Linked DNA regions of Homo sapiens: region 2 is linked to region 1. Evidence: promoter capture Hi-C in 16 types of primary human blood cells and fetal thymus (Javierre and others, 2016). All regions are on one chromosome and are shown on one strand. Each heading gives the region's core, a stretch centred on a gene start or on the middle of the fragment in contact. The rest is flanking DNA. Distances are from core to core; before and after follow the strand shown.

The links. The method cuts DNA at HindIII sites, captures the fragments that hold promoters and counts their contacts. A CHiCAGO score of 5 or more calls a contact.
Region 2: a contact is called between a fragment that was not itself captured here and the fragment with the promoter of RCSD1 in region 1, in 1 of 17 cell types (non-activated CD4 T cells). The highest score is 6.4, in non-activated CD4 T cells.

The regions. Positions count from the first base shown.
Region 1 is chr1:167,628,682-167,631,731 of GRCh38, forward strand. It overlaps RCSD1 (RCSD domain containing 1), which reads left to right and starts at 1,551. Exons shown (of 7, transcript NM_052862.4): 1 at 1,551-1,748. The coding sequence starts at 1,743. RefSeq lists silencers at 1,408-1,487, 1,508-1,727 and an enhancer at 2,268-2,337. The HindIII fragment of the contact is 3,174 bases long and covers 1-3,050 here.
Region 2 is chr1:167,446,020-167,449,075 of GRCh38, forward strand. The region is part of intron 1 of CD247 (CD247 molecule); the gene reads right to left. Among named protein-coding and RNA genes, the nearest start is that of CD247, 71 kb to the right of the region's middle. The HindIII fragment of the contact is 5,276 bases long and covers 1-3,056 here.

The DNA.
Region 1 (3,050 bases), core at 301-2,800:
AAAACAGCCACTTTTTGCAGAGTGCCTACTACATTGTATAGGTGAGGAAAATGAGAATCAGAGCAGTTAAGTGACTTGTCTAAAAAATACAACTAGAAAGTAGCAGAGCTGGAATTCAGCCCTCAATCTGTCTGTTCCTAAAACCAGGCGTCTTCCTCTATGCTTAGCTAAGCTAAAGAACTAGAAGCCACTCTGGCATTAGGGCTGCCAGTGTTTTAGAAAGTTGGGCCTTAGAAAGTTCTAGGACAGGAAGGAGGCCATATTTCTAAGACTGGTACCCAAAGCAGCAATCTAAGTGCCTGAAAGTGCAAAGATGGTGCCGGGATAACCAGAATCAGGGTAGTCTTTGTAGCAGGAGCAGACTCTCAGCCTTTTTTCTCTACTGTTTCTCCACATGTCTCTTCACAGTGCTCACCATCACCTGTCCCATTGCCCACCTCTGATGGGGCTCCCCTCCCCTGGTTGAGCTGGGGTTGGGCGGGTGAGAATGCTGTGGGATAACCCAGAGGCGTCATATACCCAGCCAATACCCTGGCACTCACAGGTCTCTCAAGGCATTTTCCTGTTTCTCTCTGCCGAAGGGTCTGAAGGGGGCCGGGATCCGGGTAGCAGGGAGTGACCCTGGTGCAGATTCCAGTCCCCGAATCCCTCCCATGCGGTCTCTGCTGCCCAGCCGGGATGGCCCTAAAGGAAGGTTGCTATGCTGGGCCCTATGGGAATCAGATGTTGAGCATCTTGCCCTTTGCTATATTTAACAGGAATGGAGACGAGGCCCTTTAGCAAGCAGCTTGTGGGAGCCAAAATTCCCACAAAACCGAATGCATCAGTCAAAGCAAGGTTTGAAGAAAAGATTTACCACTTCAGGGAGCTTGGAAAACTTTGCGTGGATTCCTGATTTTCCTCCTCCTCCTCCTCCTTCTACTCGTATACAGAAGATAGATGGATAGATGGATAGATAGTGGTTTCCTGGAAGGTGGAGAGGAAAAGAGGTGAGAAGGGAAAGGTGGTCCCGTCGGCGCCACGCTGAGCTCTGAAGCCTCGGTCAGAAGGGCTCCTCTTTTGGTAGAACACAAACGCCTTCCACCAGGGAGGGTCCTCGAACTCCACCCAAGAACTGCAGGGAAACCAGGTATGACAGTAATGCAATTTTAAAAAGAGGGAGAGGAAGAAGGAAAGCAGGAAGGATGGACACAAAAGAAGGAAATCGAAAAGAGAGGAAACAAAAAGAATTAAAGGACCACTCTAATTCTTGAAGGGACAGGAAAAAGAAAGAAGGCGCATTAAGGGAGGGAGACGTTGAGAAGGACTGAGACCGTGGCAAAGCCCAGGGTCCTGAGAAACTTCGCGAGACAGAGGGGCCCGGTGGCTGCCCATCCCCATGTTTGGGCACATGGAGTCGTGGCTCCCGCTCTTGAGTCCTGCCCTGGGAGGGACAGTATCTGTTTAGATTTGCGTCTAAATTTAAACCCTGATCGTCGGCCTCCCTCCCCGCTCCCCACCCTCCCCTCCCCTCCCCTTCCTCCCTCCCTCCCTCCTCCTCCTTCCTCGTTCTCTCGCGCAGGGCCCCCGCGGCCGGGGCAGTCCCGCAGCCGAGCGCAGCCGGGCGCGCGCCACCGCCCACTCGCCCTGTGCCCGCCGCAGCCCGAAACTGGCCACGGCCGGGAGCGGAGGGGACAGCGGGGATCGTGAGCTCCGGCCCGGGCGAGCGGGTGCGTCTGCCGCAGAGTCGGCACCTGAAGGACATGGAGGTAAAGGACCCCGGAGGGAGACGCGGGGCTGAGCGGTGAGCGGTGTATCGGGCGCCCCTTCCCCGGGCGGCTGCCCCTGCCCTGAGCATGGAGCACGCGGCTCATCGCTGCTGCCAACTAGAAGGGCAAATGCCTGCTGTTCCGACGCCTCCTTGACCAACTCCGAAGGATCGTCCCTGGTCCCACCTAGGACACCCGGGTTGGGAGGCTGGGGTTGGTAAGGAAAGATCTCAGAGGGAGAGAAAAGGGCTTTCCTAGAGGCCCGGGTATTTTGGCTAGGAACTTAAATGCTAAAAAAAAAAAAAAAAAAAAAAAAAAAAAAAAGTTAGGTGCAGCCAAGGTTTGTAAATGGGTAAACGTGTCAGCAAAAACTGCAAGAAGGCAGAAGCCCTTCAATCTGAAGAGATGGGTATTGAAAGAGAAACAGAACTGGCAACACGAGGCCAGCACGTCTTCGTGGGTCTGTGGGCTTCCCTTTTCGCTTTCGGAGTGGCATTTTAGAGAGTCCAGTTGTCTTCTTGCTTCTGAAGTCCTTCCTGTGTCTGTCGCATCTTCTTCCATAACTTTCTGAAAGCTCCCCTTACTGGTCAGTCGAATGACATTATTTCTGATAAAACTTAAGACTCCCTTGGACACCCTTGCCTCTGAAGCTGTGTGTATGGAGGTATGCTGGCCACATCTGCAGGCTTTGCCAGAGGGAGGCCCCGCACTTCTCTGCCTGCTGAGAGGAGGTCCGGGGACTTTCCTTGTTCTGTTCCAACCTCAGCAGAGGAGTGGTTGGGTGTATTCCCCACATCCCTCTCTTCTGCACATCTTGAGGCTTCCCTGTGTTTCCTCCTTGAAAATGAGACCTGATATGTAGCCCTAAGTCAATCTTAGTAGGACCTGGGGCTTTTGAGAAGATGCAAATGTTATATAGTTTTAAAGGTGATTCCCACTCATATTCAAAAGGAAACATGTGTTGCTCACTAGACTGTGGTCAGTGCAATCAGGATTCACAGTTAACTCCGCTATCTCTTCCCCGCTCCAGGCTCTGTGCCTGGGCCCTGGTGGTCTTTTTATTTTTTTCTTTTGAGACAGGGTCTCATTCTGTTACCCAGGCTGGAGTGCAGTGGCACAATCTCAGCTCACTGCAACCTCTGCCTCCCAGGCTCAAAGGATCCTCCCACCTCAGCCTCCCAAGTGGCTGGGACTACCAGTGTGTACCACCATGCCTGGCTAGTTTTAAAATTTTTTGTAGAGACAAGTTCTCACTATATTACCCATGCTGGTCTTGAACTCCTGGGCTCAAGTGATCCTCTA
Region 2 (3,056 bases), core at 162-2,661, 180 kb before region 1:
CAGAGGAATGAAGCAACTTCACCAAGGACACCTGCAGGTTAGTGGCAAAGCTGGAAGGGAATTCCTGGGTCTCCTGACTCCAGGTACTTCTCTTAGCCTTATGGCTTCGATGCAGCTGACCTATGGGCTCAGGATCCGGAGTTTCCACCTACCTCTGATTTCACAGCCCTTGCCATTTTGCCCACTTTTGACACTTAGTCACAACGGCTTGTAAACGTTCCACTTCAAGTCCGCCCCCCACCACTGGCTCTGGCAAGCACAGATGGTGCCTTATAGTTTCATTTGCACCTTTCCCTCCTCACCCGCACATCACAGGCTTAGAGAAGAGCAAAGAACATAATAAGTCTTTGAGTCAGAAAGACTCTAAGACTCAAATGTGGAATCTGCCCCATTATTGGCTTGTTTTGGAACAGTTTTCTTAACCTCTCTGAGCGTCAATTCTCCTATCTGCAGAAGGGCTTTGACAAGACCGATTTCACGGGTGCAGAGAAATGAGGTAAAGTTTGTGGGGTGCCCTGCACAGTGGCGCATGCTAAGAGGCTCTGCAGGTACAAGGAGTGACAGCAGGGGATGGCCCTCTGACCTCCCACACCATCATGCCACGGTTGGGGACAGAACCTGGCCAGGTTTCCCAGCCCAGGATGGGGATACCCACTCTTCAGGGGTGTTTGAAGATAAAAACAGATAATGGGGGCCAGGCGCGGTGGCTCACGCCTATAATCCCAGCACTTTGGGAGGCCGAGGCGGGCGGATCATGAGGTCAGGAGATCGAGACCATCCTGGCTAACATGGTGAAACCCCGTCTCTACTAAAAAATACAAAAAAATTAGCCGGGCGTGGTGGCAGGCACCTGTGGTCCCAGCTGCTCAGGAGGCTGAGGCAGGAGAATGGTGTGAACCCAGGAGGTGGAGCTTGCAGTAAGCGGAGATTACGCCACTACACTCCAGCCTGGACAACAGAGTGGGACTCCGTCTCAAAAAAAATAAAAAGAGATAATGGGTGTGTACAAAGTGCCTGGCACACAGTGGGAGCTCAGTAGTGTGTAGACTTTCTGAGAACTCCTCACTTCACAAAATGATAATGATGTAACACATGCATGAAGCATACAGTTTAGAGAGCTCTTTGCACTTGCATGATCTGGCTTAATCCTCAGAACAACCTTGCACAATACGGGCAGAATTATTACCAATTCTATTTTGCAGATAATGACGTTGCAGCTCCAATAGGTCACATGGCTAGAGATTTTCTGAGTGCATCTGATGCAAAGTCCCTTCTCAATCTACCTTATCCCAGTGCCTCTGGGGTTCCTGTCATATAGAGAGCTTCCCACCTCTTTCAGGAGTTTCTTCTTTGGTAGGCACTTCTGGCCTCTGCTTGAATATCTCTGGTGACAGGAAGCTCAGCACCCAGCAATCACTGGTGGAGAGCTCTAATTTTCAGAGTTAAAAAAAAAACTTTGAACCTAGTTCTGCCTTCAGAAGCACAAATCACACAGATCCTCCAATTTCTATAGGGCAGCCTTTCAAACCTCACCCCCGTCCAGCTTGTTTCCACTTTGATAGGAAGCACGGCAGGTAAGAATGAATCCTACGAAGGCGACAACTGCAATCCAAGTCCTGGTGTTGCTACTGTGTAATCACTGAGTAATCACAGCGACCTCCCAGGGTGTGTGACACTCAAATGGGAAGGGCTTGGTACCTGGTAAGCGCTCAGTTTGTAGGCACTGATGGAATCAATATGAATCACAGTAGCTCATGATCCAGGTAGGAGTGGCCAGCTTTCTACTCGCCAACCTTCCTTCCTTTGAGTCCCCAACTTTGAGCCCTGAGTCCTGCTGCTGCCAGCTCCACCCCCAGGCTCAGGCACAACTGGTGATGACATTGCAGGGTAAAAACTTAGAAAACAGGAAGTCACTGTTCTTAGGAAGGCAGTGGCAGCAGCTATGGGTGGGGGGGTGGGGGCGGTGTCTGTGTTGGGCAGGGTGCTGGGTGTGATGCCGACCCATTGACCACAGCATCCAGGCACCCAGACCATCCCCCTCAGTGGGTTGCTCCCTTTCATCGAATAACTAACTTTCACTGCAGCAGAAAAGATATAGGCTAGACACACAGAGTAATAGTTATAACCACTGGTTGAAGATTTGTTCTGGGCCAGGAACCACACGTGTGAGTTTTCTCATTCAGTCTTCACAGTGACTCTGATTTCACAGCTAGGGAAACTGAGGCTCAGAGAAGTTAATAACATGCCTAATGTCTACAGCCAGGGTTGAATCCAGGCACATCTGGATCCACAGTCCAGGTCTTAACCACCACTTGGTACTGACCTTCAAAGACTTGCTGATCCTCAGAGGTGGTGAGAGGGGTCCTCACCAGGCTGTGGAGTCCCTTCTCCCAGGATCGAACCATTATAGCAGGTCATATTCTTGACTCTACAATTAGCTTTCTTTCATTGAGGGCTGAGAGGCCGGCCTGGGGGGTTGACAGATACAGAAGGCCTGCTACCAAATGTGAGGCCAGGACTCACACTGCCCAGTGCTTATAGCAATGACCCACTGGAGATACCTCAATCACCCTGAACTGCAGAACGACTCCAGCTAATTTACTGGCAACATATAATGTTTTACTACTCTCTTTAATTTGCTACCAGCCTGGCCAACAGGGTGAAACCACATCTCTACTAAAAATACAAAAAATTAGCTAGGTGTGGTGGCGGGCGCCTGTAATACCAGCTACTCAAGACGCTGAGGCAAAAGAATCGCTTGAACCCAGGAGGTGGAGGTTGCAGTGAGTTGAGATAGCACCACTGCACTCCAGCCTGGGCCATAGAGTGAGACTCTGTCTAAAAAAATAAATAAACAAAAATTTTTTTAAAAAGTACCACAGCCTCCTTAATTCTCTCCTCAGTGTCAGATTTCAAATATTCATGTTTCATTGTAAAATTGGATCATTTGTTCAAAACTACCTACAAATTATGTATTCCCATAGATAAGGGTTCCAAGGGAAGAGGGAAGAACAGGGCTGTATGATTTCTTAGGGGTAGCGCTTTATGAGCAAATG